Regions from separate parts of the Homo sapiens genome. Here all the other regions are linked to region 1. Evidence: promoter capture Hi-C in 16 types of primary human blood cells and fetal thymus (Javierre and others, 2016). All regions are on one chromosome and are shown on one strand. The core of a region is centred on a gene start or on the middle of the fragment in contact, and the rest is flanking DNA. Distances in the headings are between cores, read along the strand shown. Region 1 holds the start of KAT6B (lysine acetyltransferase 6B). Region 2 overlaps ADK (adenosine kinase). Region 3 overlaps ADK (adenosine kinase). Region 4 overlaps ADK (adenosine kinase). Region 5 overlaps ADK (adenosine kinase). Region 6 overlaps VDAC2 (voltage dependent anion channel 2). Region 7 overlaps ADK (adenosine kinase).

Evidence for each region. The method cuts DNA at HindIII sites, captures the fragments that hold promoters and counts their contacts. A CHiCAGO score of 5 or more calls a contact.
Region 2: a contact is called between a fragment that was not itself captured here and the fragment with the promoter of KAT6B in region 1, in 6 of 17 cell types (total CD4 T cells, naive CD8 T cells, total CD8 T cells and 3 more). The highest score is 9.6, in total CD4 T cells.
Region 3: a fragment that was not itself captured here is called in contact with the fragment with the promoter of KAT6B in region 1 in 14 of 17 cell types (total CD4 T cells, total CD8 T cells, naive CD8 T cells and 11 more); the score reaches 15.9 in total CD4 T cells.
Region 4: a fragment that was not itself captured here is called in contact with the fragment with the promoter of KAT6B in region 1 in 8 of 17 cell types (total CD4 T cells, naive CD4 T cells, activated CD4 T cells and 5 more); the score reaches 12.0 in total CD4 T cells.
Region 5: a contact is called between a fragment that was not itself captured here and the fragment with the promoter of KAT6B in region 1, in 4 of 17 cell types (total CD8 T cells, M1 macrophages, total CD4 T cells and 1 more). The highest score is 7.0, in total CD8 T cells.
Region 6: a fragment that was not itself captured here is called in contact with the fragment with the promoter of KAT6B in region 1 in 1 of 17 cell types (neutrophils); the score reaches 11.8 in neutrophils.
Region 7: a contact is called between a fragment that was not itself captured here and the fragment with the promoter of KAT6B in region 1, in 2 of 17 cell types (naive CD4 T cells and total CD4 T cells). The highest score is 6.6, in naive CD4 T cells.

What each region holds. Positions count from the first base shown.
Region 1 is chr10:74,825,081-74,828,069 of GRCh38, forward strand. KAT6B (lysine acetyltransferase 6B) reads left to right here and starts at 1,520. Exons shown (of 18, transcript NM_012330.4): 1 at 1,520-1,705. RefSeq lists enhancers at 1-598, 599-1,370 and silencers at 206-375, 486-585, 696-895, 1,586-1,985. The HindIII fragment of the contact is 8,590 bases long and covers 1-2,989 here.
Region 2 is chr10:74,411,731-74,415,073 of GRCh38, forward strand. The region is part of intron 6 of ADK (adenosine kinase); the gene reads left to right. Among named protein-coding and RNA genes, the nearest start is that of ADK-AS1, 120 kb to the right of the region's middle. The HindIII fragment of the contact is 310 bases long and covers 1,535-1,844 here.
Region 3 is chr10:74,428,693-74,431,928 of GRCh38, forward strand. All of the region lies in intron 6 of ADK (adenosine kinase), which reads left to right. Among named protein-coding and RNA genes, the nearest start is that of ADK-AS1, 99 kb to the right of the region's middle. The HindIII fragment of the contact is 513 bases long and covers 1,451-1,963 here.
Region 4 is chr10:74,380,894-74,383,974 of GRCh38, forward strand. All of the region lies in intron 4 of ADK (adenosine kinase), which reads left to right. Among named protein-coding and RNA genes, the nearest start is that of ADK-AS1, 150 kb to the right of the region's middle. The HindIII fragment of the contact is 1,582 bases long and covers 544-2,125 here.
Region 5 is chr10:74,319,470-74,322,869 of GRCh38, forward strand. The region is part of intron 4 of ADK (adenosine kinase); the gene reads left to right. Among named protein-coding and RNA genes, the nearest start is that of ADK, 170 kb to the left of the region's middle. The HindIII fragment of the contact is 747 bases long and covers 1,625-2,371 here.
Region 6 is chr10:75,217,853-75,221,156 of GRCh38, forward strand. It overlaps VDAC2 (voltage dependent anion channel 2), which reads left to right. Exons shown (of 10, transcript NM_001391963.1): 5 at 1,211-1,363; 6 at 1,452-1,504; 7 at 2,891-3,118. Among named protein-coding and RNA genes, the nearest start is that of VDAC2, 8.7 kb to the left of the region's middle. The HindIII fragment of the contact is 7,145 bases long and covers 1-3,304 here.
Region 7 is chr10:74,446,599-74,449,664 of GRCh38, forward strand. The region is part of intron 6 of ADK (adenosine kinase); the gene reads left to right. Among named protein-coding and RNA genes, the nearest start is that of ADK-AS1, 81 kb to the right of the region's middle. The HindIII fragment of the contact is 8,727 bases long and covers 1-3,066 here.

The DNA of each region.
Region 1 (2,989 bases), core at 270-2,769:
GCTCCCTCTTCCTCCCGATCAGGGTAGACACAGCTCCCGAGGCGTCCCCCACCCCAAAACTGCCGCGATCGCCCGAAGGCGCAAAGCCTGGGCGAAGGACGAAGTTTGGGGCCCACAGCGACGGGAGTGGGGACGCGTTGGCGAGGACCGCACCTCAGTCCCAGCCCTGGCGGGCACACTCCCCGCCCCAAACGGCCCAGGCGTCCCCATCCTCCCGCGGACACCAGCGTCTCCGCCCTCCCCCGAGGGCGGCGAGAGGAGCCCCCCGGGGCGGAGGCAGGTACCCCCGGGGCGGAGACTGGGGCGGGCGGGGTCCGGGCTGCGCCCCCGGCCAGGCCGGGCGGGCTGGCGGGCGGCGCGGGGGGAGCGGGGCTGGGCGGCGCTGCCTCGGGCTCTGTGCGCTGCAGCCCGGAGCCGAGGAGGAGGAGGCGGAGGAGGAGAAGGAGGCGGCGGCGGTGGGTCCCGGGCGGGGGGAGCGCGGCGCTGCGGACCCGGGCGGCTGGCAAAGGACGAGGCGGAGGCTGAGGAAGGCAGCGGGGAGACCCAGGCTGCAGCAACAAAGGGCAGCGAGCGATTGGCCGGGCTGCAGGCGAGGTTAGCCGGGGACCCGGGTGGCCGGAGGCAGCGGCGAGCGGTGCACGTGCTTGCAGACACGGGCGAGTGTGGAGCCGGGGGGTGCACGCCCGGTGGGTAGGGGCTTGCTCCCCCGAGGCATGGGATGGCGAGGAGGCTGCAGCGACATCGTTCTGCCTGCACCCGGCCTGGGGCTGGCAGGGTAGGGGTGTGTTGGGGGGGGAAGGATGCGAGCCAGGGGGCGGGCGAGTAGTCGCCCGGGACGGGACGGGACGGGAGAGAGGGTGGAGGAGGGGGCGGGATGGAACGCTCCGGGCGGCGCGCCCGTCCGCACACTCCACCGAAGGAGCTGGCGACTGAGAACCTCGAATTTTAACTTCGCGTGCCCGCCCGCGCGCGCCCGCCCGCGCCCACCCCTAAATCCTGCGGCCGCCGCCAGCGATCAGCTCTCACACAAACTTTAGCTGCGGGCTAGGGGGTTTGGGGTTGAGTGGGGGAGGGGAGAGGGAAAAGGCCTCCTGATTGGCGTCGTCTGCAGCCAATAAGGCTACGCTCCTCTGCTGCGAGTAGACCCAATCCTTTCCTAGAGGTGGAGGGGGCGGGTAGGTGGAAGTAGAGGTGGCGCGGTATCTAGGAGAGAGAAAAAGGGCTGGACCAATAGGTGCCCGGAAGAGGCGGACCCAGCGGTCTGTTGATTGGTATTGGCAGTGGACCCTCCCCCGGGGTGGTGCCGGAGGGGGGGATGATGGGTCGAGGGGTGTGTTTATGTGGAAGCGAGATGACCGGCAGGAACCTGCCCCAATGGGCTGCAGAGTGGTTAGTGAGTGGGTGACAGACAGACCCGTAGGCCAACGGGTGGCCTTAAGTGTCTTTGGTCTCCTCCAATGGAGCAGCGGCGGGGCGGGACCGCGACTCGGGTTTAATGAGACTCCATTGGGCTGTAATCAGTGTCATGTCGGATTCATGTCAACGACAACAACAGGGGGACACAAAATGGCGGCGGCTTAGCTCCTACCCCTGGCGGCGGCGGCAGCGGTGGCGGAGGCGACGGCACCTCCTCCAGGCGGCAGCCGCAGTTTCTCAGGCAGCGGCAGCGCCCCCGGCAGGCGCGGTGGCGGTGGCGCGCAGCCAGGTCTGTCACCCACCCCGCGCGTTCCCAGGGGGAGGAGACTGGGCGGGAGGGGGGAACAGACGGGGGGGGATTCAGGGGCTTGCGACGCCCCTCCCACAGGCCTCTGCGCGAGGGTCACCGCGGGGCCGCTCGGGGTCAGGCTGCCCCTGAGCGTGACGGTAGGGGGCGGGGGAAAGGGGAGGAGGGACAGGCCCCGCCCCTCGGCAGGGCTCTAGGGCAAGGGGGCGGGGCTCGAGGGCGGAGGGGGGCGGGGCGGGATCGGGTGGGGGCGGGGTTCGGGGAGTCGGAAGGCGGGGGCTGAGAGGGAATTTCTGAGTGGGAGTGAACTGGTAGGAGCGGTGGGGGGCCGGCGAGGGTGTGAGGAAGACTAGTGAGGGTTGGGTGGGAGGAGAAGCTGAAGGTGTAGAAGCAGGTGCAGAGGGAGAGTTAGGGAGGGATGCAATTTGAGAGAAGTGGAAGGCGGACCGAGGGGTGTGTGAGGGCAGGTGAGATGATACCGAAGGCGAGATTGCAGTTGTCTGGGCGCAGAGTAGGTGGGTTTGGGTGTGGTGGATGTGGAGTAGAGTTGAAGCGGTGCAGAGTGTTGGGTTTGGGGAGGCGTTGAGGGGTTTGGGGAGGCATTGAGGCGCATGTGAGGAGCAGGTACGATTGCAGTGATGGGAAAGAGGTATCTGGGTGGATCGCATGTTGGAATAAGAAGGAGGTTTGCTAGCTTTGGGGTATGAAGTATTTTTTAAAAACGTGGAAGGATGGGATGGTTGTGCTTGGGAGAGTTTCTGAAAGATGATGCTAAGACAGCAGAGCAAACTTAAATATGAAGGAAGGGGAGAGAGGCTGCTTAGAACTTGCAAAATCTGTGGCAGAAAATCTCCTGGGGACAAGGGATTGGTAGGGGTGGGACAAGGCGGCAGGTGTGAAGAAAGTGGGTGGAGCTGTACAGTAATTTTCGGTGAATGTGATTTGGTGGACTGTGCCAGGGGTGAGGATGGGGCAGAGAAAGGTGTTAGTTTGGGAGACAAGTTGTTTGATAGGCTGTATTTATTATTTTTTATAAAAATGAGAAAAGGGTCTCACTATGTTGCCCAGGCTGGTCTCGAACTCCTGGCCTCAAGTGATCTGCCCACCTCTGCCTGACTGATGGGATTACAGACGTGAGCTATGGCGACCCGTGATACGCTGGATTCATTATGTTAAACTTGATCTGGAGTCTTCAAGGGAGTGTCCGGCAGCAGGGTATCCCAGGAAGAGACATGCACCATACCTTGGGATAGGACATTTTGCATA
Region 2 (3,343 bases), core at 440-2,939, 410 kb before region 1:
ACTCTTCTTTCATAAAAGATTTCTCTGTAGCATACAATGTTGTTTGATAGCATTTACCTACAGTAGAACTTCTTTGAAATTGGAGTCAGCCCTCTCTAACTCTGTTGTTGCTTTAACAGTTATGTTTATGCAGTATTCTGAATTTTTCGTTGTCATTTCAACAGCATTCATAGCGTGTTCACCAGGAGTAGATTCCATGTCAAGAAACCACTCTCTGTGTTCATCTATAAGAAGCAATTTCTCATCCATTCAAGTTTTATCATGTGATTGCAGCAATTCAGTCCTATCTTCAGGCTTCACTTCTAATACTAGTTCTCTTGCTATTTCCATCACATGTGCATTGACTTCTTCCACTGAAGTCTTGAAGCCCTCAAAGTCATCCATGAGGGTTGGAATCCACTTATTCCAAACTCCTATTAATGTTAATATTTTGACCACCTCACATGAATCGTGAATGTTCTTTTTTTTTTAAACAGGGTTTTACTCCTGTCACTCAGGCAGGGAAGTGCAGTAACAATCACTGCACATTGCAGTCTCAATCTCCCAGGCAAGCTCAAGCAATCCTCCCACCTCATCATTTATTTTATTTTTGTAGAGACGAGGTCTCACCATATTGGCCAGGCTGGTCTCGAACTGCTGGGCTTAAGTGATCCTCCCACTGCGGCCTCCCAAAGCGCTGGGATTGCAGGTGTGAGCCACCATGCCCAGCCCATGAATGTTCTTAATGACAACTGGAATGATGAATTATTTTCAGGAGGTTTTCAATTTACTCTGCCCAAACCCATCAGATGAGTCACTATGGCAGCTATAGCCTTATGAAATATATTACTTAAATAAGATTTGAAAGTCAAAATTACTCATTGATCCATGGGCTGCAGAATGAATGTTGTTTTAGCAGCCGTGAAAACAACATTCATCTTCTTATACGTCTCCATCAGAGCCCTTGGGTTACCAGATGCATTGTTAATGAGCAGTAATATTTTAAAGGGAATCTTTTTTTCTGAGCAGTAGATCTCAACAGTGGGCTTAAAATATTCAGTATACCAGCTGGGCACAGTGGCTTATGCCTGTAATCCCAGCACTTTAGGAGGCCAAGGCGGGAGGATCACCTGAGGTCAGGAATTCGAGACCAGCCTGGTCGACATGGTGAAACCACATCTCTACTAATAATACAAAAATGAGCTGGGCATGGTGGTGCACACCTGTAATCCCAGCTACTCAGGAGGCTGAAGCAGGAGAATTGCTTGAACCCTGGAGGCGGAGGTTGCGGTGAGCCAAGATTGCGCCATTGCACTCCAGCCTGGGTGACAAGAGTGAAACTGTCCCCAAAAAAAAAAAAATTCAGCATACCATACTCAAACAGGTATGTGTTCATCCAGGCTTTGTTATTTCATTTATAGAACACAGGCAGAGCAGATTTAACATAACTCTTAAGGGCTCTAGGATTTTTAGAATGGTAAATGAGCATTGACTTCAACTGAAAGTCACCAGCTGCATTAGCCCCTAAAAAAAAAAGAGTCGTCCTATCCTTTGAAGCTTCGAAGCCAAGCATTTACTTCTTTTTAGCTGTAAAAGTCTTCAATAGCATCTTCTGCCAGTAGAAGACTCTTTTGTCTATGTTGAAAACCTGTTGTTCAGTGCAGCCACCTTCATCAATGATGTTGGCAAGATCTGGGTAACTCTTCAGCACCTGCTATTTTACCTTGCACTTTTATGATATGGAGATTGCTTCTTTCTTTCAACCTCACAAATTAGCCTCTCTTAGCTTCAGACTTTTCTTGCACAGCATCCTCACCTCTCAGCTTTAACAGAATTGAAAAGAGTTAAGGTTGTGCTCGGGATTAAGCTTTGACCTAAGAGAATGCTATGCTGGTTTGATGTTCTATACAGACCAGTAAAACTTTCTCCATGTCAGCAATAAGCTTATTTCACTCTCTTATTCATGCGTTCACTGGAGTAGCACTTTTAATTTTCTTCAAGAACTTTTTCTTTGCATTGAGAACTTGCCTGTTTGTTGTGAGAGGTCAAACTTTCAGCCTGTCTCACCTTTCGATATGCCTTCCTCACTAAACTCAATCATTTCTAGCTTTTGACTTAAAGTGAGAGACATGCAACTCCTCCTTTCACTTGAACACTTAGAGACCACTGTAGGATTATTAATTGGCCTAATGTCACTATTGTTGTGTCTCAAGAAATAGGGAGGCCTTAGGAGAGGTAGAGAGATGGGGTAATGGCCAGCTGGTAGAGCAGTGAAAACACAGCATTTATCAGTTAAGTTCACCATCTTCTATGGGTGTGGTTTGTGGCATCCCAAAACAATTACAATAATAATATCATAGATCAGTGATCACTATAAAAGATATAAAAGTTTGAAATATTGAAAGAATTACCAAAATATGACAGAGATCCAAGCGAGCACATTCTGTTGGAAAATAATGACACCATACTCAAGGCAGGCTTGCCATAAACCTTCGATTTGTAAAAAAAAATAATAAAAAGGTATCTGTGAAGTGCAATAAAATAAGGTATGCTTATACCAAAACAGACTTAATTATGCTATTTCTTACCATTAGTGTTAGAGTTCAGTTTCTAATGTTTTTCATTTTCCATATGTTATTGATGTTCAGTGAGTTACACAAATTATTTACTGTTGTTACTTCCACCTTAGTAGGGAGAATCTTTGATTTTTGCTGGATAAATTTTCAAACAAGAGTGTGATTATAGGCTGGACGTGGTGGCTCACGCCTGTAATCCCAGCATTTTGGGAGGCCGAGGTGGGCAGATCACTTGAGGTCAGGAGTTGGAGACCAGCCTGGCCAACATGGTGAAACCCCCTCTCTACTAAAAATACAAAAATTAGCCGGGCGTGGTGGCGCATGCCTGTAATCCCAGCACTTGAGAAGCTGAGGCAGGAGAATGGCTTGAACCTGGGAGGCAGAGGTTGCACTCCTGCCTAGGTGACAGAGTGAGACTCCATCTCAAAAAAAAAGAAAAGAAAGAAAAGTGTGATTACAGAGATCCTATTTGTGTTTATTTTTAATTTCTCTAGAATTTGTTTTCTTCAATAAATAAAATTCTAATACCAGTTTTTTTTGAGTAACACTGTGATTTTTATACAGAAAGACTTTCTCCAAATTGGAGAATGTACTCTTTTATTCCTGTAATTTTTCTTAACTCTTATTTTTGGCAGCTACCAAAAGTAAAACTCTCTACCAAGACAGAGAAGAAATCTTTGGGAATATTAAGTAATGTTATTTTTCATTACACGGACTAACCTTTTTACTAAGAAGAATTGGGATAGTATTGGTTATGGGAGCTTAGGAGCCCTAAAGATAAAGATTGG
Region 3 (3,236 bases), core at 457-2,956, 400 kb before region 1:
CATCAATGGTTGTAACATCTAAGAGGACAGACATGTTGATGAAGAACAGAATATTTACATGGTCTTGAAATGTTGTATGGGAGAAGAGAAAAACAGCAACAATGCAGTGGAGAAATCAGACAACACATTGACAGGGTGATCACAAGTATCACCTCCAGTGAGAGTCAAATGAACATTGTTTGCCTCCTTATGTGTTTATCTGTCCCTGAGAAGTACACAACATCATCTATGCAGTTTCTGGCCCAGAATGCATCTCAACTCAATCACAAGAGAATATTATGCATACATACAGAAAAAGAAAGAATACAACTGAACATAGATGATAAAGAAAATGAGGTAAAAATGTGACAACAGATGAAAATGGATAAAGGTATTTTCTGTGTTTTTATTTTTGGAACTTTTTGTACATTGAAATGATTGCCAATGGAAAAGTTTAGATAAATTGTCCTAAAGTTACAGAGAACTTGCAGGGAAAAACATCTTAAAGTAGACTAATAGTGGAGAGTCATAAAAGACACTTGGCAAATCTTCTTAGTTGAATATTATTCAAACTATTCAGTCAGGGAACTGATTTTGTGCTAATTATGAAATGCATTATTGCATTGACTTTATGTCTCTTACAACATTAAATTATGTTACCTAGGATCAATTTGAGATTCAACACATGATAGTAGTTTAATACAGTGAAGTCATAACTTGCAACAAACTATCCCAATTTTAAGAATTAATTCTGAGCAATTTTTATATGCATGAAAAAGATGGTTAGAATTATTTGCAGACACTTGCATATTCTTTAGTCAAGTGGTCTTATTACCATAATTCATATCTGTTGTGGGAGTAGGGAAGAAAGAGATTTAAAAAATATCTATCAGTTCTTTCAATCAAGTTAGGTATAATATTAATAGACTTTGAGCTAAGAAAGTTTTCATGACCAGAAGAGGAGCAGGAACTGTCTAACATAGAAAATGTTTATGGTATACCATAATCAGTTATACAAATATAAAAGGAAAAAATGTTTGACTAGTGATACTCTCAAACTTGGATATCCAGAAGAGTGATTCTGTCAGTACACTAAAAGCAAATTCATCTATCAGGAGCTTTCATGTTTTCATTCAACAAATATTTATCCAGTGCCTATTATGTACCAGATAGTGTTATACTGTGAATCGGGAGCATATGTTAAAATAGACAATATAGTAGACATTATTCTCTAAAATTATTAACAATAGTAGCTAATACTCATATGATACTTACTCTGGGCCACATACCATTCTAAGATCTTTACATATAGTAATTCCTTTACCTCAAACAACCTTATTAGATTGGTACTATTATTACCTCTATTTTATTGATGAAGAAACAGAGGCACGGAGGTGTTAACTTTCTCCAGGTTTCACAGCTAAAAGTAGCAGACCCAGGATTTTGAATCCATCAGACTGGCTTGTGTCCAAGCTTTTTTTAATTAATTTTTTTTATTTTGACATAATTTGTAGATTCACATGCAGTTGTAATATAATACAGAGAGATCTCATGTACTTTTTACTCAGTTTCTCGAGGTAACTTCTTACAAAACTATAGAACCATATCATAACCATCATATTGACACTGATATAGTCAAGGCTCCAAATATATCTGTCACCACAATGATCCTTCATGTTGCCCACCCACTTCCCTCTGTTCACCTATTGAAAGACATCTTGGTTGTTTCCAGTTTGGAGCTATTACAGATAAAGCTGCTGTGAATATTTGCACATAAGTTTTTGTATGAACACCAATTTTTGGCTGGGCGTAATGGCTCACACCTGTAATCCCAGCATTTTAGGAGGCCGAGATGAGAGAATTGCTTGAGGCCAGAAGTTCATGACCAGCCTGGTCAACGTAGCAAGACCCCATCTCATTTTATAAAAATAAAAAATTATTTTTTAAAAGGAACATCAATTTTCATTACTTTAGACTGCCTCTAAGCTTTTAATTCTTACATTCTACCACCTCTCAATATATAGTAGGGAATAAATAGTAGAGAATGACTTGATGGTTAAGTTGACATTCAGAAGAGGCCTGAAGGAAGTGAAGAAAAAAGCCATACAGCTGTTTGGGGAAAGCACATTTCAAGCAGAGGGAACAAGCACAGAGGCCTTGAGAAGGAAATATGCCTAGAGTGTTTGAGACAGAGCAAGGCGGCTGGAAGGAGATGAGTTCTACAAGGCAGCTATGAGCCAGGTCTATAAGATGTGGCTGCTATATAGAAAATAGATGGTGGTTGGGCAAGTGTTGAAGCATGGGGAACTATTAAGAGGCTGCCCATCGGAGCTTGCAGTGAGCCGAGATCCCGCCACTGCACTCCAGCCTGGGCGACAGAGCGAGACTCCGTCTCAAAAAAAAAAAAAAAAAAAAAAAAAGAGGCTGCCCATGTGAGAGATGATGGTAGCTTAGACTTATGGTGGAAGTGTTAAAGATGGTTCAGATTCTAGATATGTTTTGAAGAAGAGCTCACAAAAATTTTTCTGATGGGCTGACAGTTGGATATGAGAAAAGGAAAGGAGGCAAGAATGATTCCATTTACCAGGTTCCAAGAGAATGATTACAGAAACCAATAGATTGCCTTATTTATTTATAGTAGGAAATGTAGTTATCACATCGGCCCAAATGTTTGTGTCTGCTTAATCCGCATATCTGTTTCTTTAGGCAAACTTGCATTGGAATGTAATGGCGACTGCAGAATCAGGATAAGGGGACTTGAATAAATCAGTCTTTAAATGCATCTGAGGCCGGGCATGGTGGCTCATGCCTGTAATCCCAACACTTTGGGAGGCCGAGGTGGGCAGATCACTTGAGGTCAGGAGTTTGAGACCAGCATGCCCAACATGGTGAAATCTTATCTCCACTAAAACTACGAAAATTAGCCAGGTGTGGTAGCTGGCACCTGTAATCTCAGTTGCTCGGGAGGCTGAGGCACGATAATTGCTTGAACCTGGGAGGCGGAGGTTGCAGTGAGCCTAGATTGTGCCACTGTGCTCCAGCCTGGGCAACAGAGCAAGACTCTGTCTCCAATCAATCAATCAATCAATCAGTAAGATACATTTCACTCCAGCCTGGACAACAGAGCAAGACTCTATCTCAGTCAATCAATAAGATACATTTATCTCTTTAGTAGGGACCTGAAAAAATTAAATTCCATAGACAAAAGGCTTTCTGAGCTCTTCTTTAATAAGTAGTGTTGGCAGATGCAGTGGCTC
Region 4 (3,081 bases), core at 85-2,584, 440 kb before region 1:
TTGTCCCGCACCCTCACCCTGTTTTTCTTTTGAAGGTATTATACTAAAGGAAGAAAGGGAAAAAGAGAAATCTATGGTGTGAGTTCAAGTTTACTACTGTAAGTGTTTAAGAAAGGGCTCTGTTACCATGACAACAAATGCATGAATTTCATGTGGAAAATTTTCAGTGTATGGGACTGATAAAATTGTAACATTCTGATTTTCTCTGGTATAGAATTGTTCTTTGTCAAGTTAAAAAAAATCTGTTAATATATGTTAAAATTAAATTTTTAAATGTTTTATGATATTGTTTTCTAATTGTTTATTATAACTTAAAATCATAGCCAAAAGAGTGTACTTTCGTAGATCTGTCAAGCAGAAAGTTAAGTATTTGATTTGACATTAAAAATTACTTTTCTAATCTGTATTAGATTTTTGCTAAATGGTAAATAAAATGGTAAATAGTTTCATGTATTGGGAGTTCTTGACAATAGAAAATGACCTGCCACTTTATAGATTCCTTTGCCTTAAATGCTTACTAACTCAGGTAGAGGAAAGCTGTTAAGCTTTAAGTGCTTTGTCATATTTGCAGGCTTTTATAGTGGAAGAGAACAGCAGTCAGCAATGATGATGGAAAACTGTGGCAGGTAGACTTAAAACACCATAAAGCACAGACGATTGTGTGTAATGCCTTGAATTGAATCCTTTTTGAATGAAATGATCAGCCATATGTGCCACCCTTATGGACCCTGTAAGAAGAGTAGAAGAAATGTGCCCTAATGCTAACTGTGCATGAAATTGCAGTGTTAGGAGATATTGACCAGATGTTTCAATCTCAGCAAATGGCTTGTTATGTGACTGAGTGAAAATATCTTTGCTGCTTTGATCACATACACCTTGAAGGAAGGGGTAATTTAATAGAGGCTGTCATAGTTCATCATTGTCAATAAACTTTGACTTGACCTTTGCCTTACGTTTTTGATGTTGCTGCTGTTAAGTGTTGTTGGGCAGATGTTTACTGCCTTGAGGGATTTTGCTTTTTATAAAGTGTATACTAGAAAAAGTAAAGGAGAAGGATTTTCTCAATTCTTTTCTTATTCTTTGGTTATTAGTTGGCATGCTTCTCTGTGGATTTTGTAGAATTTCTGGGCAGATGCATTTGAGTGACATTCTTATGTCTAAAGATCACTGTGGTGTTTCTCTAAAGGTTTCTTCCTTTCCTCACCTTCCTTTTTCTTTTCTCGAGACATGGTCTCACTCTGTCACTCAGGCTGGAGTGCAAGTGATGTAATCTTGGCTCACTGCAGCCTCTACCTCCCAGGCTCAGGCGATCCTCTCACCTCAGCCTCCTGAGTAGCTAGAACTACAGGTGCACACCACCATGCCTGGCTAATTTTTGTATTTTTTCTAGAGATGGGGTTTTACCACATTGCCTAGGCTGGTCTCGAACTTCTGAGCTCAAGCCATCTGCCGGCCTCAGCCTCCCAAAATGCTGGGATTGCAGGTGTGAGCCACCGCACCTGGCCCTTTCTCACCGTTTTGTCCTGGTTTTAATTTACCACAATAAACTTCCTTGGTGGTTTTTCTTTCTTATTTTATATACAGCCTATTCTTTTGTTCTGATGAAAGTCACATTGAATTAAAACTTGACACCTATTGTAACACCATACCAGGTGCTGTGTTATTTTTTTATCCCTAGTTTTGGAGACCTTTGGAGATAAATCCATGCTATTTTGTAATCCATTTTTGTTAATCTTAAGAAATTGAGTGAAAGTTTCAGTAACACAATTTTTTTAAAATTATAAGATACAGTATTTTAAAATTTTGGTAAATAGCTTTGGATTAAATGAGTTTCTTGTTTAATTTGATGAATTTGACTCAGTTCTGTAACCTTTTTGCTCTTTTTCTTGAAAAGAAAAAGGCTTCCTCACTGGCTATATCTGGGTTCTGCCTACACTCTTCCCTCACTTCCCCTTGGTGTAGGTGGCCTAGACCGTGTTAGTCACCTAATGAAATCTGTGAATCCTCTCTTGAAAAACACAGCAAAGTTTCCTTACAATTTCAGGATGTTTATTGGATTTTCCCCCCCTCCTCTCACACATACCCTGCAATGATAGGGGCCCCTGGACTTCAAGCAGACTAACAAAGCTTAGAAAATAAGATTCATACTCCTTCTTAGTATTCTAGATATATAACAATTTGACTTAGAAGTAACAATAACAATAGTATTAGTGATACTGCTACAATAATTACAACAGTAATAATAATAATAATAATTAAAATTTACTTTCTGCCAACCTTATGCCAGATTCTATGCTGAACCTTTAACCTGTATTACTGGTTATATTGTTAATGATACCTCTAGATAGAGTATATGCAGCATACTTTTATTCTGTACTTTAGGAAATACTATATCTTTAGAATACAGATTTGAGTAAGAGATTATAAGCATTTTGATTCTAAGACTTTTTGGAATACTGAACTTTTAGTTTTCTGATTCCAGTAGTCAGTCTGTCTGTCTCTGTCTCTGTCTCTGTCTCTCTCTCTCTCTCTCTTTCTCGGCCTCTCTGCCATTCATCTTCTTCTGAAAATTAGCTATCCCACGTAAGCCTCATATATCCCCTAATTCCTATTTGTAGTTGTGAGGGAGGAAAAATATTTTCCTTCTAAGTTCTCTGCTGTAAGATTCTTGTAACAAAAGACAGATTAACAAAAGTTAAGTACACTAATTTATATTCTAAGTTTTATGTAACATAGAGGGAAATGAAGACTTGAAGAAACAATTAAACCTGGTGTTTTTACATTAGGTTTTATGAAGAGTGGAAGGGAAAGGCAATAGGACAAAAAGGGGTATGAACTAAGAGTAGTAAACTGAGGGGACCTTAGCAAGACCTGTTTGTTTAGATTCATCTCATGTCCTTACATCTTCTGAGATAAGGATGTTCTTTTTTTCTGCATATAGTAAACATCCTCTCACATGGATGGTCTTATGATTTGCTTCAGAGGAAATCAGAAAGTCCTTCCTGCACCTGCTGTTCTCAAATTCCTTCAGCTTAAAATTTTCAGTATGTCAAGTGCCATATTTTGGGGGTAGTGTGTCCT
Region 5 (3,400 bases), core at 748-3,247, 510 kb before region 1:
ACACCAGTCAGATTGGATTAAGGCCTACCTTACTGCCCTCATTAATTTAATTACCTTGTTAAAGACCCTATCTTCAAATGTAGTCACATTGTGAGATACTGGGGTTTAGGGCTTCAACATATGCATAGTGGCAGGAGGGTCTGTGGAGGGGTGTTTATAATTCAGCCGATAACAACTATGTGTTTTTAAATTTTTGTGTCTAAGTAATAAAACATGAATAAGTTAATTTTTGGTAGTGTTCTTTTTTGATACCTTCTTCCTTTTCTTTCCTGTATATGTTTTAGTTACTTTTATTATTTACCATTTGAATTACAATGAACATTCTAAACTCATAACAACCTAATTTGAATAATACCAATGTAGTTTCAATAATATACAAACACTCTGCTCCTTTACATCTCCATCCTCTTCTTATATATTATTACGCTCATTGATTACGTCTTTATATATTGCATGCCCATTAACATAGATTTGTAACTATTCTTTTATTCATTTGTCTTTTAAATCATATAAAAATAAAAGGAATTACAAACCAAAAGTTCAGTGATAGTGGCATTTATATTTACTATGTAGCTACTTTTACCAGAGTTCTTTACTTCTTCATATGGCTTCTGGTTACTATCAAATGTCCTTTCATTTCAGCCTGAAGGACTCTCTTTAGCATTTTGTGTAGGGCAGGTCTATTGTTAACAAACTGTCTTAGCTTGTGTTTATCTGGGAATGTCTTAAATAGCCCCTTTATTATAGGATAGTTTTGTTGGATATAGAATTCTTGGTTAACGGTGCTTTTCTTTTAGTATGTTAAATATGTCAACTCACTGCTTTTTGGCCTACATGGTTTCTGATGAGAATTAGTTCTTATTCTTACTGAGAATCCTGACTTGTGACCAGTTGCTTTTCTCTCACTGATTTCAAAATTCTTTCCTTGTCTTTGTCTTTCAGCAGTTTGACTATAATGTGTCTTGGTGTGAATCTTTTTGTGTTTATCATGTTTAGAGCTTATTAAATTCATGCTTCAAGTTCATGCTTGGATGTGTAGATTCATTCATTTTATGAAAGTCAGGAAGTTTTGGACCATTATATCTTCAAAAATTTTTTTCTTTTATTTTCTCTTTGTTTTCCTTCTGGCATTCTCATAATTAATATGTTGGTCTGTGGTGATTGTTTAGTGATAAGGATTCTGATTAAATAAGATAGAAAAAAACACCATGGTGAGTAAGCAAAGCAGAAATAGAACCCCACTGTTTTAACTAGTAACCTCAGCTTGCTTTTTTTACCGGAGATTTTTCTCTCATCCTGAGAAAACTTCAATTTTTACTTCTCTAAATGTTAGAGATTTTGAGTAGTGTTTCACATGCTTTCTTCACTTCTTACTGTCTTCTTCAATTTGGGAGTAATTGTAGGTTGTCAGAGAGAGTGTCGAATATGCATCACTTTAAATACAGTTATCAGTAAATGGACTCTTTCATTCATGCTTCCCAGAGATGACAGTTTTCCTTGGTGCCTAGATACCTTTTTGTTCCTTGGAGATTCATAGTATTATGTGACTCATTGAATTTTTCAGAAGCCTGATGGTGAGCTTCGTGAGGTATTTCTATTTAAGTTGTAAGTTCGCTTGTTTTTAAGCTTCCTGCAATTTAACTTACCTATAGTATTTTTAAATTTATTTTAAAAATGCCATCTTGGGGTATATTCTAGGCATCTCAAAAATTTTAAATACCATCTTATCCTTTGTTAACTGGAATATAAGCAGGTAATCATTTGAATCATTTTTTTTCCTGTAATTATTATAACATTGAGGCTATATGGATTTTTTTTTCTTTTTTTAATTTGAGGCAGAGTCTTGCTCTGTCACCCAGGCTGGAGTGCAGTGGTGCGATCACAGCTCACTGCATCCTTGACCTCCTGGGCTCAAGGAATTCTCCTGCCTCAGCCTCCTGAGTAGTTGGGACTATAGGTGCACACCACCACACCCACCTTATTTTTAACTTTTTTGTAGAGATTGGGTTTTGCCATATTAACCGGGCTGGTCTTGAACTCCTGGGCTCAAATGATCCTCAAGACATTAGCTTGGTCTCTTCTCAAATTAGCAGATCCTTATTTCTGTCTTATAATTTCTAATCTGCTTTTATAATTATTGACTTACATTCAATCTTCCAGTTTTTCATGTCTCTTCCAATTAGATAAGCCTCCATATTTGTATTTAACTTCCAGTAAAATTTTAACCATGTTGTTTCATTTTTAATTAAAATTTAAGAGGACTGCCTAAATGCCAGTGTGTTTATGTTGTATACATCTCGGGGCATGCTTTTAAGTGTTTTCTTGATGTAAAACATCACATAATAAACTAGTGTTCATAATTGTATTTTAAAGCTTTCCAAAATTCTATGTAAAATGAGTTTCTAAAAACACTAAACAAAAGAAGTTTTAGGAATTATGTTTGAATGAAATAGAAACATTGAACTCAAAATTGTAAAGCTGATATTTCAAGAACTACCAATTAGTGTAACATTACTAATTGAGTTACAGTATTTAGAAGTTAAAACTGATGTAAATCAAAGGACTCATGTTGTTTATCTATTTTGAATCCTTTTTTGAAAAAAGTTAATCTTTAAAGTTTTTCTGTATTAAAAAAATCTGATTATCTCTTGTGACCTATTTTACCTAGAAAAGCTAGTTAGAGGTTAAAAGGTTTTTTATGAGACATACTTCTGTGCATCGGAACAGTCCAGATGTAAATTTAAAAAGAAGAAATGACAATGAAGTGATCAAAGAGAATTCTGTGTTCAAATGCTTTCACCTGGAGCAGTTGTAGAAATGTCAGTAGCACAACTGTATTTATAATTATAGCAGGATGTGGCAGATGGTGATGCAACACCGTCTCGTCAATTCTTTGTGTCATTGAAGAAAGTAGTAAGTATTAATTCTGCCAATTTTATGATTAATGAATAATTTTAAGTAACACAGGCCCTACGAATAAGGTTGACTGTTCAAATTGTGATACCTCATTATAGTTTTTAAAGTTTAAATATGAATTAATACTCCTCTTTGCCTTTCTGTTCTCTTTCCTTTTCAAATTAGGTTGTTAAGTTTTCATAGCTAAAATAAGATGAAGGAAGCAGTGGCTTGCTGTCCTCAATTATATTTTTGATGTGTTTGTGAAATTATTATAACTTAGATCAGATTCTTTAAAGAAAAATCAGTATTTCATTTTTTCCTTTCCTCCCTTTTCTCCCTCTCTCCTTTCCTTGTCTCTCTCCTTTCCTTTCTCTCTCTTCTTCCCTTTACCCCTCCTCTCCCCTTCCCTTCTTTCTCCTCCTCCTCCCTTCCTCACATCTCTTTCCCTTCTCCTCCTACCCTTCCTCTTCCCTCCCCTCTTCTTCCTTTCTTCCTACTTTGT
Region 6 (3,304 bases), core at 731-3,230, 390 kb after region 1:
TATTGATACAATTTTTGATATTTCTCACTCTACAGATATCACAATTTCTGGCTGTAGTCTCTTTATTATTTTCACATCAGCTGTCTTCCTTAGGCTTGGCGTGGTGATGCTTGTGATCCCAGCTACTCAGGAGGCTGAGGTACGTGGATCACTTGAGCCTGGGAGGTTGAGGCTGCAGTCAGCTGTGATCACATCATTGTGTTCCAGCTTGGGTGACAGAGGCAAGATGCTGTCTCAAAAAAAAAAAAAAAATTCAGATAAGCCCTCCGTATTTTTTCTTTTTCAGTTCGTGTGCAACCAGGGATTGGCACATTATTATTTTTAGACAGGGTCTCACTGTGTCACCCATGCTGAGTGCAGTGGTGGGATTATGGCTCACTGCAGCCTGGACCTCCCAGGCTCAAGCAGTCCTCCCACCTCTGCCTCCTGAGTAGCTGGGACTACAGGCGCACACCACCACGCTGAGCTGGTTTCTTAATTTTTGTAGAGACATGGTCTTGCTATGTTGCCCAGGCTGGTATCTAAGTGCTGGGATCACAGGCATGAGCCACCACACTCAGTCCCCCATTGATTTTTGAATCCCAAATAAAATCACCTTAGCAAAACCTTCCTTAAAAGATGTACAGTTAGCTGGGGTGGTGGCTTACGTTTGTAATCCCAACACTTTGGGAGGCCGAGGTGGGTGGATCACCTGAGGTCAGGAGTTGGAGACCAGCCTGACCAACATGGTGAAACTCCATCTGTACTAAAAATACAAAAATCAGCTGGGTGTGGTGGCGGGCACCTGTAATCCCAGCTACTTGGAAGGCTGAGGCAGGAGAATCACTTGAACCTGGAAGGCGGAGGTTGCAGTATGCCGAGATCACGCCACTGCACTCCAGCCTGGCGATAGAGCGGGACTCTGTCTCAAAAAAAAAAAAAGGTGTACAGTTTGTTCACTTGAGAATTCACTACAGGTTAACTTGTGATTGATTGGAAGTGTCAGCTGTGTATGTAAAGTGGCAGTCAGTTGCTCAAAGGCTTATTTGTCACTCTTATATATGCTTAGAGAGTAGCACAGTGCAGAAGGATACGAGTGTTTAGGAAGCTAGAAAAAGGATTCATGAATTTACCAAATGTTTCAGGGGGTTTGTGTGTGTGTGCGTGTGTAAGGCAGTGATGAATTCTAGGCTTATGAGAATGTTCATGAAGTTATTGATTGTCTTGTTAGGAATTTTCAACGTCCGGTTCATCTAATACAGACACTGGTAAAGTTACTGGGACCTTGGAGACCAAATACAAGTGGTGTGAGTATGGTCTGACTTTCACAGAAAAGTGGAACACTGATAACACTCTGGGAACAGAAATCGCAATTGAAGACCAGGTAACATTTTGAAAATTTTAGTATTAATTTTATTAATTTATTTTTGTATTTCAAAAAAAGAAAACAAATTACTTTTCTTTCAAAATAGATTTGTCAAGGTTTGAAACTGACATTTGATACTACCTTCTCACCAAACACAGGGTAAGCACAGACATTTTTATCTGTATTACATTTAAAAGTATTTCTCTTTTGTATATTTAGAAAAGGTGTACATTTACTGTTTGATAGCTTATTAAGCTACCTTGTGGTGGTGAAATCTCTGTATCTGCTTTTATTTATTTATTTGAGATGGAGTCTTTGCTGTGTCACCCAGGCTGGAGTGCAGTGGCATCATCTTGGCTCACTGCAGTCTCAGCTTCCTGGGTTCAAGCGATTCTTCTGCCTCTGCCTCCCTGAGTAGCTGGGACTACAGGTGCGTGCCACCACGCCCAGCTAATTTTTGTATTTTTAGTAGAGGCGGGGTTTCGCCATGTTGGCCAGGCTGTCCTGGAACTCCTGACCTCAGGTGATCTGCCCACCTTGGCCTCCCAGAGTGGTGGGATTACAGGCATGAGCCACCACGCCCAGCCTTTTTTTTTTTTTCCATATTTTATTTTATTGTATTTATTTTATTTTATTTTATTTTCATTTGGGACAGAGTCTTACTCTGTCACACAGGCTGGAGTGCAGTGGCGCGATCTCGGCTCACTGCAACCTCTGCCTCCCGGGTTTAAGTGATTCTCCTGCCTCAGCCTCCTGAGTAGCTGGGATCACAGGCATGTGCCACCACGCCCACCTAATTTTTGTATTTTTGGTAGAGACAGGGTTTCACCGTGTTGATCAGGCTGGTCTTGAACTCCTGACCTCGTGATCTGCCCACCTCAGCCTCCCAAAGTGCTGGGATTACAGGTGTGAGCCACCGCTCGCAGCCTGTTTGTTTATTCTCTGTCACCCAGGCTGGAGTGCAATGGTGCGATCTTGGCTCACTGCAACCTCTGCCTCCTGGGTTGAAGCGATTCTCCTGCCTCAGCCTCCTGAGTAGCTGGGATTACAGGCATATGCCACCGTGCCTGGCTAAATTTTTTTGTATTTTTAGTAGAGACGGGATTTCACCATGCTGGCCAGGCTGATCTTAAACTCCTGACCTCAGGTGATCCGCCCGCCTCAGCCTCCCAAAGTGCTGAGATTACAGGCGGGAGCCACCATGCCTGGCCCATATCTGCTTTTAGAATACTATGGTTGCTATCATTGGCTTGCCTTCAAATATTTGCCTCTTTGTTGTTGCACTAACTTGGGCAACTAATGTGTTTCTAACAGGCTTTTGTGACTGATTGTTTGTTCTGCAAAGCAGTTTTCCTAGATGGCTGTCCAGTTGCTTCATGTGTCCTTGTCTTGTAGTTCATTGAGCTGACTTTTTTACTCCCTGTTATTGTATTGCTGATTTTTACTCCCTGGTCATACTGCAGTTTATTTAAGTCTGTTTTGTGCTCTCTTGTGCAGAAGTGTGTGTAAATTTTTCCCAATGACATCAGTTTGTTCTTTTTCCAGAAAGAAAAGTGGTAAAATCAAGTCTTCTTACAAGAGGGAGTGTATAAACCTTGGTTGTGATGTTGACTTTGATTTTGCTGGACCTGCAATCCATGGTTCAGCTGTCTTTGGTTATGAGGGCTGGCTTGCTGGCTACCAGATGACCTTTGACAGTGCCAAATCAAAGCTGACAAGGAATAACTTTGCAGTGGGCTACAGGACTGGGGACTTCCAGCTACACACTAATGTGTAAGTATTTCTTTCATAGGATACTGTGATGTGGGCCCTCAGAGGATGATTTTGATGTCTGTCATCTTATTGATCTGGGTGCACCCTAAAGGATTTCTCATAACATTTAAAAACAAAATCATTCTTGGTCATTTCTAGGGTGCCCCTTGAAAGTTTATAGTAGAAGACTGTTAGTCTGACCTTTGG
Region 7 (3,066 bases), core at 223-2,722, 380 kb before region 1:
TAGTGAGAAGGTGGATAATTGTACATTTGATTTTATTCCTTTATGCTAATAATTCCCATGTACATACAGTGAATGAAATATAGGAGACAAACATCTTCAACTATTCTCATTTCTTATTGGTTTTAGAGCTTGGAAATATGTTAAAAAGACATGTAAACTAGTTCCATCAATTGTATTTCCTCCTATTTAGATAGTACAGTGATTTTGAGCAAACTGTTAACATTGATTTTAAAATCCAAAATATATTATTAGTCTATAAATCACTGCATGGTTCTCATTCATTGATTTTCACTTAGGAGGCTTTGGGGGGTTGTTTTGTTTTTATAATGCTTTACCCAAAGCATTTTAAATCTTCTACTCTCCAGTAATAGTTTTTGTCAAATATATTTTGATATCTGCTGTACTATTTGCTATATTTACTTAAACATCTCTCCACTACGTAGAGCAGGTACTATAGGAGGAAAAACTTTTCCTCTACCCTCTTATGTTCAGTAGTTGGTGCTTGCAAATTAAACTGACAAAAAATTAGGAGGATAAAAGGATTATTTTGTATGCACGTGAGAAGCCTCACAGAAAAGAATTGAAAACCCCAAAAAACCAATGAGACCAAGGGGCTTACATATCATTTTAAGAAAGAGTGATAAAGTATGGAGAAGAGACTAGACAAAATGGGGGTTTAGACTTCTGGTGGGGTGAGGGTGGGCATTAATGATAGGTGACTAAGGAATGAGTGGTAAATAAGGGTTGTTTAGTAAGGTTTATTAGGCAGAGTCAAGTGAGAAGAGTCTGCTTCTTCTCTTCCTGGTACTGGAGAGGAGGACGCCATTACAAATATGAATTTCCTTTACAAAAGGGAAATTTATGCCCTATTTTTAGGAAGTAAAGGGGAGGGCAGAGAGCTCCTCCTATGTTTGCTGTTTTAATTGCCTGTAGTTCAAAATAATCCTTATGCTGAAGTGGCATATTTGAGGGTGTCATACTCTGATCCCCTTCACTATAGACTACTCTCTAATACCAGGGTACTGAGTTAAGATAATTCTGAAGGCTTCGCTAATAATCTACTACTCTTTGTCAATTTCCTATCTTAGTTTTCTCATCTGTAAAATGGAGATCATGATAGCACTTACCTCAAAAAATGATAAGAAGTCAATTAAAAAAGCACCAAAAAATGCTTAATAAAGTGGTCTGACACATAGTAAATTCTCAATGAATAATGTATATACTGTTAAGGAGTCATTTCCCTCTAAGAGTACAAAGTACAAAAGAAAAAGTTGGAGCTTAAGATTTAGGTTTGGCTGGGTGTGGTGTATCACGCCTGTAATCCCAGCATTTTGGGAGGCTGAGGGGGGTGGATCACCTGAGGTCAGGAGTTCGAGACCAGTCTGGCCAATGTGGTGAAACCGCATCTCTACTAAAAATACAAAAAATGGCAGACGTGGTGATGCATGCCTGTAATCTCAGCTATTTGGAAGGTTGAGGCAGGAGAATTGCTTGAACCCTGGAGGCAGAGGCTGCAGTGAGTCGAGATCACGCCACTGCACTCCAGCCTAGGCAACAGAGTGAGACTCTGTCTCAAAAAAATAAATAAGAGTTAGGTTTAATCCCAGCTACTTGGGAGGGTGAAGTGGGAGGGTCTCTTGAGCCCAGGAGTTCAAGTCCAGCCGGGGCAACCTAGTGAACACTTCCCTCCACTCCATCTCTTAAAAAGGATGGGAGTGTTCCCAGTGCTGATTATGCCACCTATTAGCCGTATGACCTTGGACAACTGTAAGCCTCAACTTTCCCATCTATGCAATAAGAATCATTTTTACCTCATTAGATTGTTATGAGGATTAAATGAAGCAGCATGTATATATGTGTATATATATACGCATATATACATATAGTATCTTGTATATAATAAGTATTTATTACATGCAATTTCATCTTTTATGTAGACTTTCTAGACTCTAACCTTGCCCCAGGAAGATAAGTGACTTTTACATTAAGCCATGTTCTCTTTTTCCTTTATGACACTCCTCAATGCTTAATGAAGAACTCTGGCTACACAAAAAACTAAAGTAAAATGTTGACAGACTGCTTTTTTCTACATCTGGGCTTCTTTAATTGAAAGCTGACATTTAGGCCAAGAATTGTTAGGAATTCCTATTTAGGTTTATACCAGTTCTCGCTTATATACAAGATGTATACTTGTGTATACATGTTATTTACACACATACAATAATATATACTGGCTTTCTTTTTTTCCCTCTCATCCCATAACAGATAGTATACTGCCTTTTTTAAAAAAAAAAATGCCCACTTTTCAAATTAAAAAGCAGAGGCACACATTCTTTCCAAATGTATTAGTATAATTTGAAATAATGAGATTGTATTAATAGGATTCAGCCACAGAAACAGACCCATTAGGGAAGATAGAGTGAGAATAAGATTTATTTGTTGGTTGATCGATTTTGAGGAATTGGCCTATGTCATTGTGGAGACTGGCTAAGTAGTCCAAAACCATAGGGCAGGCAACCAGGAAGGGGAGAAAGCCTTGAACTTCTTAGGCATGGGCAGAAGCTGTCATTCATAGGTGGAATTTATTCTCTCTGTCAAGGAAACTTAAGCCATGCTTTTCTTTTTAAATTTTATTATTATTATACTTTAAGTTTTAGGGTACATGTGCACAACGTGCAGGCTTTTACTTTCAACTGATTGAATCAGGCCCCTCCAGATTATCCAGGATACTCCAGTAATAGAAGTCAACTGACTGGGAGTTTTAATTACATCTGAAAAATACCTGTATAGCAACACCTAGATTGGAATTTGATTGAATAACTAGAGTCTGTAGCCTAGTCAAGTTGTCACCTCAAAAAAACCATCTTGGGATAAAGTTTTTTGAAAAAAGAAATAGAAAGTTCAGGGCATTTTGGTCATTATTTTTGTGTATTGTGCCTATTATATCTTTTTATTTTAAATTTTTGAGAATCTGTTTAGTGCCTAGTATTTTGCCAAGATTATAAAGGAAACAAAGGTATCTTAATGTTTTTTTCAAATCTTAACATCTTAAAGTTGTTTCAAGCA